Regions from separate parts of the Homo sapiens genome. Here region 2 is linked to region 1. The links are contacts of gene promoters, found by promoter capture Hi-C in blood cells and fetal thymus (Javierre and others, 2016). All regions are on one chromosome and are shown on one strand. The core of a region is centred on a gene start or on the middle of the fragment in contact, and the rest is flanking DNA. Distances in the headings are between cores, read along the strand shown.

Region 1 (3,802 bases), core at 1,293-3,792:
CAAGATTTCCAGTTAAATTTGAATTTCAATCGACCACAGATAATTGCAGAGACAGCAAATACAAATATTGATGAGCAATACTTACATTAAAAATAAGTCATTTTTACCTGAAATTCAAATTCTGTTTTCCCACACATAGCTACATTATTTCCTGCACGTAGCTACATCCCTCCTCTGCTATGTAAACCCCCAATTTCAGTCACTTGGGGAGATGAATTTGAGACTGATCTGCAGTTCTTCTCAGCTGCAGCAACTGAATAAAGTCATCTCCCCTGGAAATACTTGCCTCAGTGATTGGCATTCTGTGCAATGAGTAACGGGACCTAGGCTGAACCTCTGGCATTTCAGTAACAGATTTTGGTTCCCTCATCAGGAAGACATTGCTCTTGGCTTGGCTGTCACCAGTTGGGAGAATTTCCGCAACCCTAAGCAGCAGCCTATGTGTTTTAGGCAGGATGTGGGTTTTAGTCTTTCTATTTAGCATTGCTGCTGCCAGCCCCAACCACATTTCTGATTGCCTAGGAAGAACAGCCTTTCAAATTTGACTTCTGCATGTGGATAGGTGAGTGTCTTTTGTGGATACCGACAGTGGGAATGGCTCCTCTCAATTTGAGAAATTCTGAAGGAATTTCCATTGGCAAGTTCAGCAAGGCCAACTGACGGAGAGAGGAAGCACCCTGACTGTTCCAGTTCAGACACTCTTGGGGCTTGTTAGTAATTGAGTATGTGTCTGGATAAGTGAGTGTCATTTGTGGGTCCAGACAGCAGGATCTGCTTTTCTCAATTTGAGAAATTCCGAAGGAATCTCCATTTGCAGATTGAACTAGCCCAACAAACAGGGAGAAAGCAACTCAACTGTTTCAGTTTGGACTCTCTTGGGACTTGCTTATTGTTGCAGCAGTTAGATTGTATTCTGGTGGTTGTTTGTGTGTTGATGTAGTTGTGGGAGATCAGGGTTTGATCTGAGTGCAGACCGCTTGGGTGTATTCTTCAGGGTTGGTCTGCATGTGGCTGTGGGCCAGTGGAGTGAGGGAACATCTCTACCCGTATCACGCTGAACATGCCCAATCTCATCTGATCTCAGACAGTCTTTGAATTGTAGCACTGCCTTATATTTGGATTTATTTTGCTGTTGAATGTGAATATGGGATGGAAGTCCATGTCTCCAGGCTTCTATGCTGCTGCTCTAAGGACAGGCAGGCCTGATTAGTATGTGCTGCTGTTTGGCTACAGAGTTCTTTGGAGTCTGGAGAGATTTGGCCTTTAAAAATCAAACTGTCAGACCCTGTCTCAAGGAAAAAAAAAAAAACAGGATGTGAGCGCTCTCCCTCTCCCTCTCCCTCTCCCTCTCCGTCTCCCTCTCCCTCTCCCTCTCCGTCTCCCTCTCCCTCTCCCTCTCCGTCTCCCTCTCCCTCTCCCCACGGTCTCCCTCTCATGTGGAGCCGAAGCTGGACTGTACTGCTGCCATCTCGGCTCACTGCAACCTCCCTGCCTGATTCTCCTGCCTCAGCCTGCCGAGTGCCTGCGATTGCAGGCACGCACCACCACGCCTGACTGGTTTTGGTGGAGACGGGGTTTCGCTGTGTTGGCCGGGCCGGTCTCCAGCCCCTAACCGCGAGTGATCCGCCAGCCTTGGCCTCCCGAGGTGCCGGGATTGCAGACGGAGTCTCGTTCACTCAGTGCTCAATGGTGCCCAGGCTGGAGTGCAGTGGCGTGATCTCGGCTCACTACAACCTACACCTCCCAGCAACCTGCCTTGGCCTCCCAAAGTGCCGAGATTGCAGCCTCTGCCCGGCCGCCACCCCGTCTGGGAAGTGAGGAGTGTCTCCGCCTGGCCACCCATCGTCTGGGATGTGAGGAGCCCCTCTGCCTGGCTGCCCAGTCTGGAAAGTGAGGAGCGTCTCCGCCCGGCCGCCATCCCATCTAGGAAGTGAGGAGCGCCTCTTCCCAGCCGCCATCACATCTAGGAAGTGAGGAGCGTCTCTGCCCGGCCGCCCATCGTCTGAGATGTGGGGAGCGCCTCTGCCCCGCCGCCCCATCTGGGATGTGAGGAGCGCCTCTGCCCGGCCGAGACCCCGTCTGGGAGGTGAGGAGCGTCTCTGCCCGGCCGCCCCGTCTGAGAAGTGAGGAGACCCTCTGCCTGGCAACCACCCCGTCTGAGAAGTGAGGAGCCCCTCCGCCCGGCAGCCGCCCCGTCTGAGAAGTGAGGAGCCTCTCCGCCCGGCAGCCACCCCATCTGGGAAGTGAGGAGCGTCTCCGCCCAGCAGCCACCCCGTCCGGGAGGGAGGTGGGGGGGGTTAGCCCTCCGCCCGGCCAGCCGCCCCATCCGGGAGGGAGGTGGGGGGTCAGCCCCCCGCCTGGCCAGCCATGCCGTCCGGGAGGGAGGTGGGGGGGTCAGCCCCCTGCCCGGCCAGCCGCCCCGTCCAGGAGGTGAGGGGCGCCTCTGCCCGCCCCCCCCTACTGGGAAGTGAGGAGCCCCTCAGCCCGGCCAGCCACCCCGTCTGGGACGGAGATGGGGGGTCAGCCCCCCCGCCCAGCCAGCTGCCCCGTCCGGGAGGGAGGTGGGGGGGTCAGCCCCCCGCCTGGCCAGCCGCCCCGTCCGGGAGGGAGGTGGGGGGGTCAGCCCCCCGCCTGGCCAGCCGCCCCGTCCGGGAGGGAGGTGGGGGGGGTCAGCCCCCCCGCCCAGCCAGCCGCCCCGTCCGGGAGGTGAGGGGCGCCTCTGCCCGGCCGCCCCCTACTGGGAAGTGAGGAGCCCCTCTGCCTGGCCAGCCGCCCCGTCCGGGAGGGAGGTGGGGGGGTCAGCCCCCTGCCCGGCCAGCCGCCCCGTCCGGGAGGTGAGGGGCGCCTCTGCCCGGCCGCCCCTACTGGGAAGTGAGGAGCCCCTCTGCCCGGCCACCACCCCGTCTGGGAGGTGTGCCCAGCAGCTCATTGAGAACGGGCCAGGATGACAATGGCGGCTTTGTGGAATAGAAAGGCGGGAAAGGTGGGGAAAAGATTGAGAAATGGGATGGTTGCCGTGTCTGTGTAGAAAGAAGTAGACATGGGAGACTTTTCATTTTGTTCTGCACTAAGAAAGATTCTTCTGCCTTGGGATCCTGTTGATCTGTGACCTTACCCCCAACCCTGTGCTCTCTGAAACATGTGCTGTGTCCACTCAGGGTTAAATGGATTAAGGGCGGTGCAAGATGTGCTTTGTTAAACAGATGCTTGAAGGCAGCATGCTCGTTAAGAGTCATCACCAATCCCTAATCTCAAGTAATCAGGGACACAAACACTGCGGAAGGCCGCAGGGTCCTCTGCCTAGGAAAACCAGAGACCTTTGTTCACTTGTTTATCTGCTGACCTTCCCTCCACTATTGTCCCATGACCCTGCCAAATCCCCTCTGTGAGAAACACCCAAGAATTATCAATAAAAAAAAAAAAAAAAAAAAAAAAAAAATCAAACTGTCAGCTGGGCGCAAGAAACTGAGGTGGGCAGATACTTGAGCCCAGGAGTTCGAGACCAGCCTGGGCAACATGGTGAAACCCTGTCTCTACAAAAAATACAAATATTAGCTGGGTGTAATGGTGCATACCTGTAGTCCCAGCTACTCAGGAGGCTGAGGTGGGAGGATTACCTGAGCCTGGGAGGTTGAGGCTGCAGTGAGCCTTGATCACACCACTGCACTTCCAGCCTGGGTGACGGAGATCCTGTCTCAAAAAAAAAAATAATCAAACTATCATGGAAACTGCTTTATTCAAAATTTTGTTTCACAACCTTTATTGGATTACCTATCAGAACAAATAAAGTTCAACCATGTGA
Region 2 (3,802 bases), core at 419-2,918, 660 kb after region 1:
CACAGATTTTGCGTCCAATAGTTATCATGCATTCATTCCTTTCTCCTTTCCACTAACAAATATTTATTGAAAGCATCTATTATGTGCAGGGCACTATGCTAACTCTGTGGATACAGCAAGGTTCTCAAGGAGCTTACATTCAAACCAGTAAAGCAGACAAATAGGTTATTACAATTCAGGGTGACAGAAAAAAGTAAGAGCACTATGGGGACACTTTGAGGGGAATGGGCACAAATAAAAATAAGTGGCTAGGATCAGACCAAGAAAATGGGATGTGCTACAAAACCCTGGGGCAGAGGAGAGACAGATCTTGGGAAGACATCGATAGCTAAAGCATACTTAGGCCATAATGGATTTTTTCCATCTTTTTCCCAAGTATTGAGCCCAAGAAGGACAGTGAGATGATATAGGCCTAATGAGGCTGACATAATCCAATAAGGATTTCTTTCCTTTGGATTTGCTGATACTGTATCCACATTTTTATACAAAGTAGCTAATACAACTTGGGCATTATTATATACAGCTGTTGGATTAAAAGTTTTTGGACAATCAATGAAATACTCTGCTAACTTCTACTGAGAGACAAGATAATAAGCCTTTAATGACATAAAAATCAGGATTACATCTGCATAATAAACTGATAGGATGCCACTGAAATTATCTTGGCTAGCAAACTGACTATAGTTCTAAAATGAGCCTCTGTAATAATGAAAACTTCGCCAAAATGCTTTAACATACTTACTTTGACTGATTTACATCAATAAGAGAACCTATTTTTGATGTGGTAAAAGATATGTGCTCATCTCCAATTACAATTTCAAGCTCCTAAAAAATATAGCAGAAAAATGTAGTTAATATAAAAATCTATCCCAGAGGTATCTGTATTCTTGCTACAAGCAGATCCCAATTTTAGTTGCAAGTTTTCTAGCAGCCAACAGAGGGAGTGGGGGGCGAGGGGGAAAGAAACATGGTTTCTTAGATATAAACTATATCCTTAAAATAAAGACTGCTCACGCGCACTACCCCCAAGTTTAGGACCAACAAAGAATTGCTTTCCAGAGACATAAAGAAGACACTATGAAACAAAATGACAAAGAAATATTTCTTACAATGTCAGTAAAAACTAAAGACATCACTTTGAAGCACATGTTGTAAAAATGATTGGAGTATAAGACCATTTTTAATATGATAAATACACATTTTTTCTTTCTGGAAGATTCTACAAATAAAATGTGTAATATTAATAACCACCACCACTTTAGCACCTACTGTATGTCAGGCCCTAGTGGTAGGGACTTTGTACTCTCTGTAATCTTGAAAATAACCTTACTAACCTATTTTACAAATGTGTAATCCAAAACTCATAGAGCAGAAGAAAATACTTGTTGATATTTATAACCACTAATAATGATGGTACTTATATTTGATCCCAAGATGGTAAGACTTCAAAACTAATACTCCACAAAATAACTAAAATTAAGAACTAGTAAAAAAAAAAAAAAAAAACCAACCTAATGTAGATGTTCCTAGTGTGCTGTAATTACTGTATAGATTTTTCCCTATATTGTTTATCTGCAGGCCTAAAACCAATAATTAAAAAGCTATATCTGTAATGAATCTTCAAGTTAACAGACACTATTGAAGACAATCCTAGCTATTTATTTAATCAGAGGCCTAATTATGCAGTTTATGACACACACAGAATGGAGAATTAGCTAAGATGCTCTAACAGCCATAAAACCTTTGACTTGATACAAAAGGCAATTTCTGAAGCATGCCTACTCCTCCCCACTAACCAAAACCCATGAACACATCCTTAAGTGAATAGATAAAATACTAGGCTCTCCCTGAGTCTAAATGATATAAAAGGTTAGCTGCTGTGGTTTGCTTTTTAGTACATATGTGTATCTGCATAAAACAAACTGAGGCCTAAATTTACTTTTTAAAAGTGATACGATGCTTAAAATAAATACTGTTAACTATTACCTTTGCTTTTCTAAATAATGCTTCTTTAAGCAGAAGACTTAAGTTACTCCTACAGAGTGTCAGCATGTGTTAGATTTCTCCACATTTTCTTCTATTCAAAGAAGGTGATACAAAGTACAATCCTCAGGGATATACAAAAGTGAAATTAAATGTTTCTTCCTTCCAGGGGTTGTTGAAGGAATTTCTCCAAGAGTTGAAAAGACCCAATTCAGAAACCAAACTTTCTTTTTACAGAGTGAAATTAGGCCTTCAGAGTTCTTCAGAAGCCTGAGAAACATCATTTATTCTGAAGGAATATGAGAGGGAAATGCAATCATCAGTTTTAACAAAGAAACCACCAATCAAGTTTCTCTCTGGGGTATAGGGATGCAAGTAAGAATTTTAGAAGTTATGATTTGGCAAAAATAAATTTTACATAGTCATATTCTTAATAAAAGTGATTAACACACAACAGAAATTATTCATAACACTGCATTGTGAAAACATCCTAACGTTGGCTGGGGTGACTACAGAGAAAGATGTCTAAATTTAGAGCTATGCACTGACTCCTTCACTACTAGGAGGTAGCACAGAAAAACAGAACTAAGAGATAAAATTAAAGAGAATTTACCAGGTGCCTATTAAATAGAAAGCCAAAGAATCAACTTAGACTCATTCCAAATAAATAACGGGAAACAAAATAGTATTATCAATTTTTAATATTTATACACTTAAAGAATCACTAAATACAAACCTGTCGGCCAACCCTATCAGGGGGAGGCCACAAAGCATCATCTTCTTTTGTAATTTCACTGTCATCAATAATTCTCTTCAGTTCTTCCATTACACTCTTGTGCACATAAGCCTAAAAATTAATCATAATAAAATGAGATAATGCCCACCTATGTCACCCCTCAACTCAGAAAGAAATGAGTTACAAACCCTGAATATCCAAATAGAGGAATATAGAAAAATTTAATTGATTCCAAAAGTAGAGGAGACAGAATCACTTATCCTTGTTACACTGCTTTTCTTCATCTCTTGCCCTTTCCTTTCACATACATTTTTTCCCTCTTCTCATCATTACCTGTCTTTCAAACACTGTATTCTGCCTTTGCAACACTGAGATCCAAATACCCACAAGTGGTTAACTTGTGTCATCACAAGATCTATAAGGTGAACTGTAATAAATGCAAGTATACTGAGGCAGGAGAATCGCTTGAGCCTGGGAGGCAGAGGTTGCAGTGAGCTGAGATCAAGCCACTGCACTCCAGCTTGGGTAACAGAGCGAGACTCTGTCCCTAAATCAATAAATCAATAAATGCAAGTGTAGTTCACGTCAAGGTTAGTTCTCTGAACTTTCTCATTCCTATGGATGCAAACACTGTATCTAATTTAAATGGAAACTCTTTCAATCTATAAATTGCCTTCTTCTTTACAATATAGCCTTAGATGTACTTTTTTAAATTCAACACAGACTTGAAGAAAATGGGCTAAATGCAAAAAAAAAAAAAAAAAAAAAAAAGACATTCACATAGAACTTACCTCTTTTCTGATCATGACATCATTTTTGTAATTGCTGTTGTTGGCATATCTAAGCTTTCCTGTGGGAAGTGGAAAAAAATCAATTTATAATAGCAAAAACTGCTAAAAAAATTAACATCATATACAATTTTGAAGGTAAAGACCATTTTATACTACTATTTTTATTAATATTTCCTCCCTCCTTGTGTAAGATCATTGCTAGACATGTAGACAATAAATGTTTGCTGGTTAAGTTTGCTGAAGTTGAAGCTAGCCAAATATTTAAACAGCCCATGCCTACAATATATATTGG

What was found. The method cuts DNA at HindIII sites, captures the fragments that hold promoters and counts their contacts. A CHiCAGO score of 5 or more calls a contact.
Region 2: a contact is called between a fragment that was not itself captured here and the fragment with the promoter of CLEC12A-AS1 in region 1, in 1 of 17 cell types (neutrophils). The highest score is 5.0, in neutrophils.

The regions. Positions count from the first base shown.
Region 1 is chr12:9,950,795-9,954,596 of GRCh38, forward strand. It overlaps CLEC12A-AS1 (CLEC12A antisense RNA 1), which reads right to left and starts at 2,543. Exons shown (of 3, transcript NR_135047.1): 1 at 1,756-2,543; 2 at 108-1,285. LOC124902874 (a long non-coding RNA gene) reads left to right here and starts at 863. Exons shown (of 2, transcript XR_007063207.1): 1 at 863-2,243. It also overlaps a transcript of CLEC12A not described here. The HindIII fragment of the contact is 17,088 bases long and covers 1-3,802 here.
Region 2 is chr12:10,607,112-10,610,913 of GRCh38, forward strand. It overlaps MAGOHB (mago homolog B, exon junction complex subunit), which reads right to left. Exons shown (of 5, transcript NM_018048.5): 2 at 3,511-3,569; 3 at 2,720-2,830; 4 at 743-825. Among named protein-coding and RNA genes, the nearest start is that of MAGOHB, 4.6 kb to the right of the region's middle. The HindIII fragment of the contact is 3,788 bases long and covers 1-3,562 here.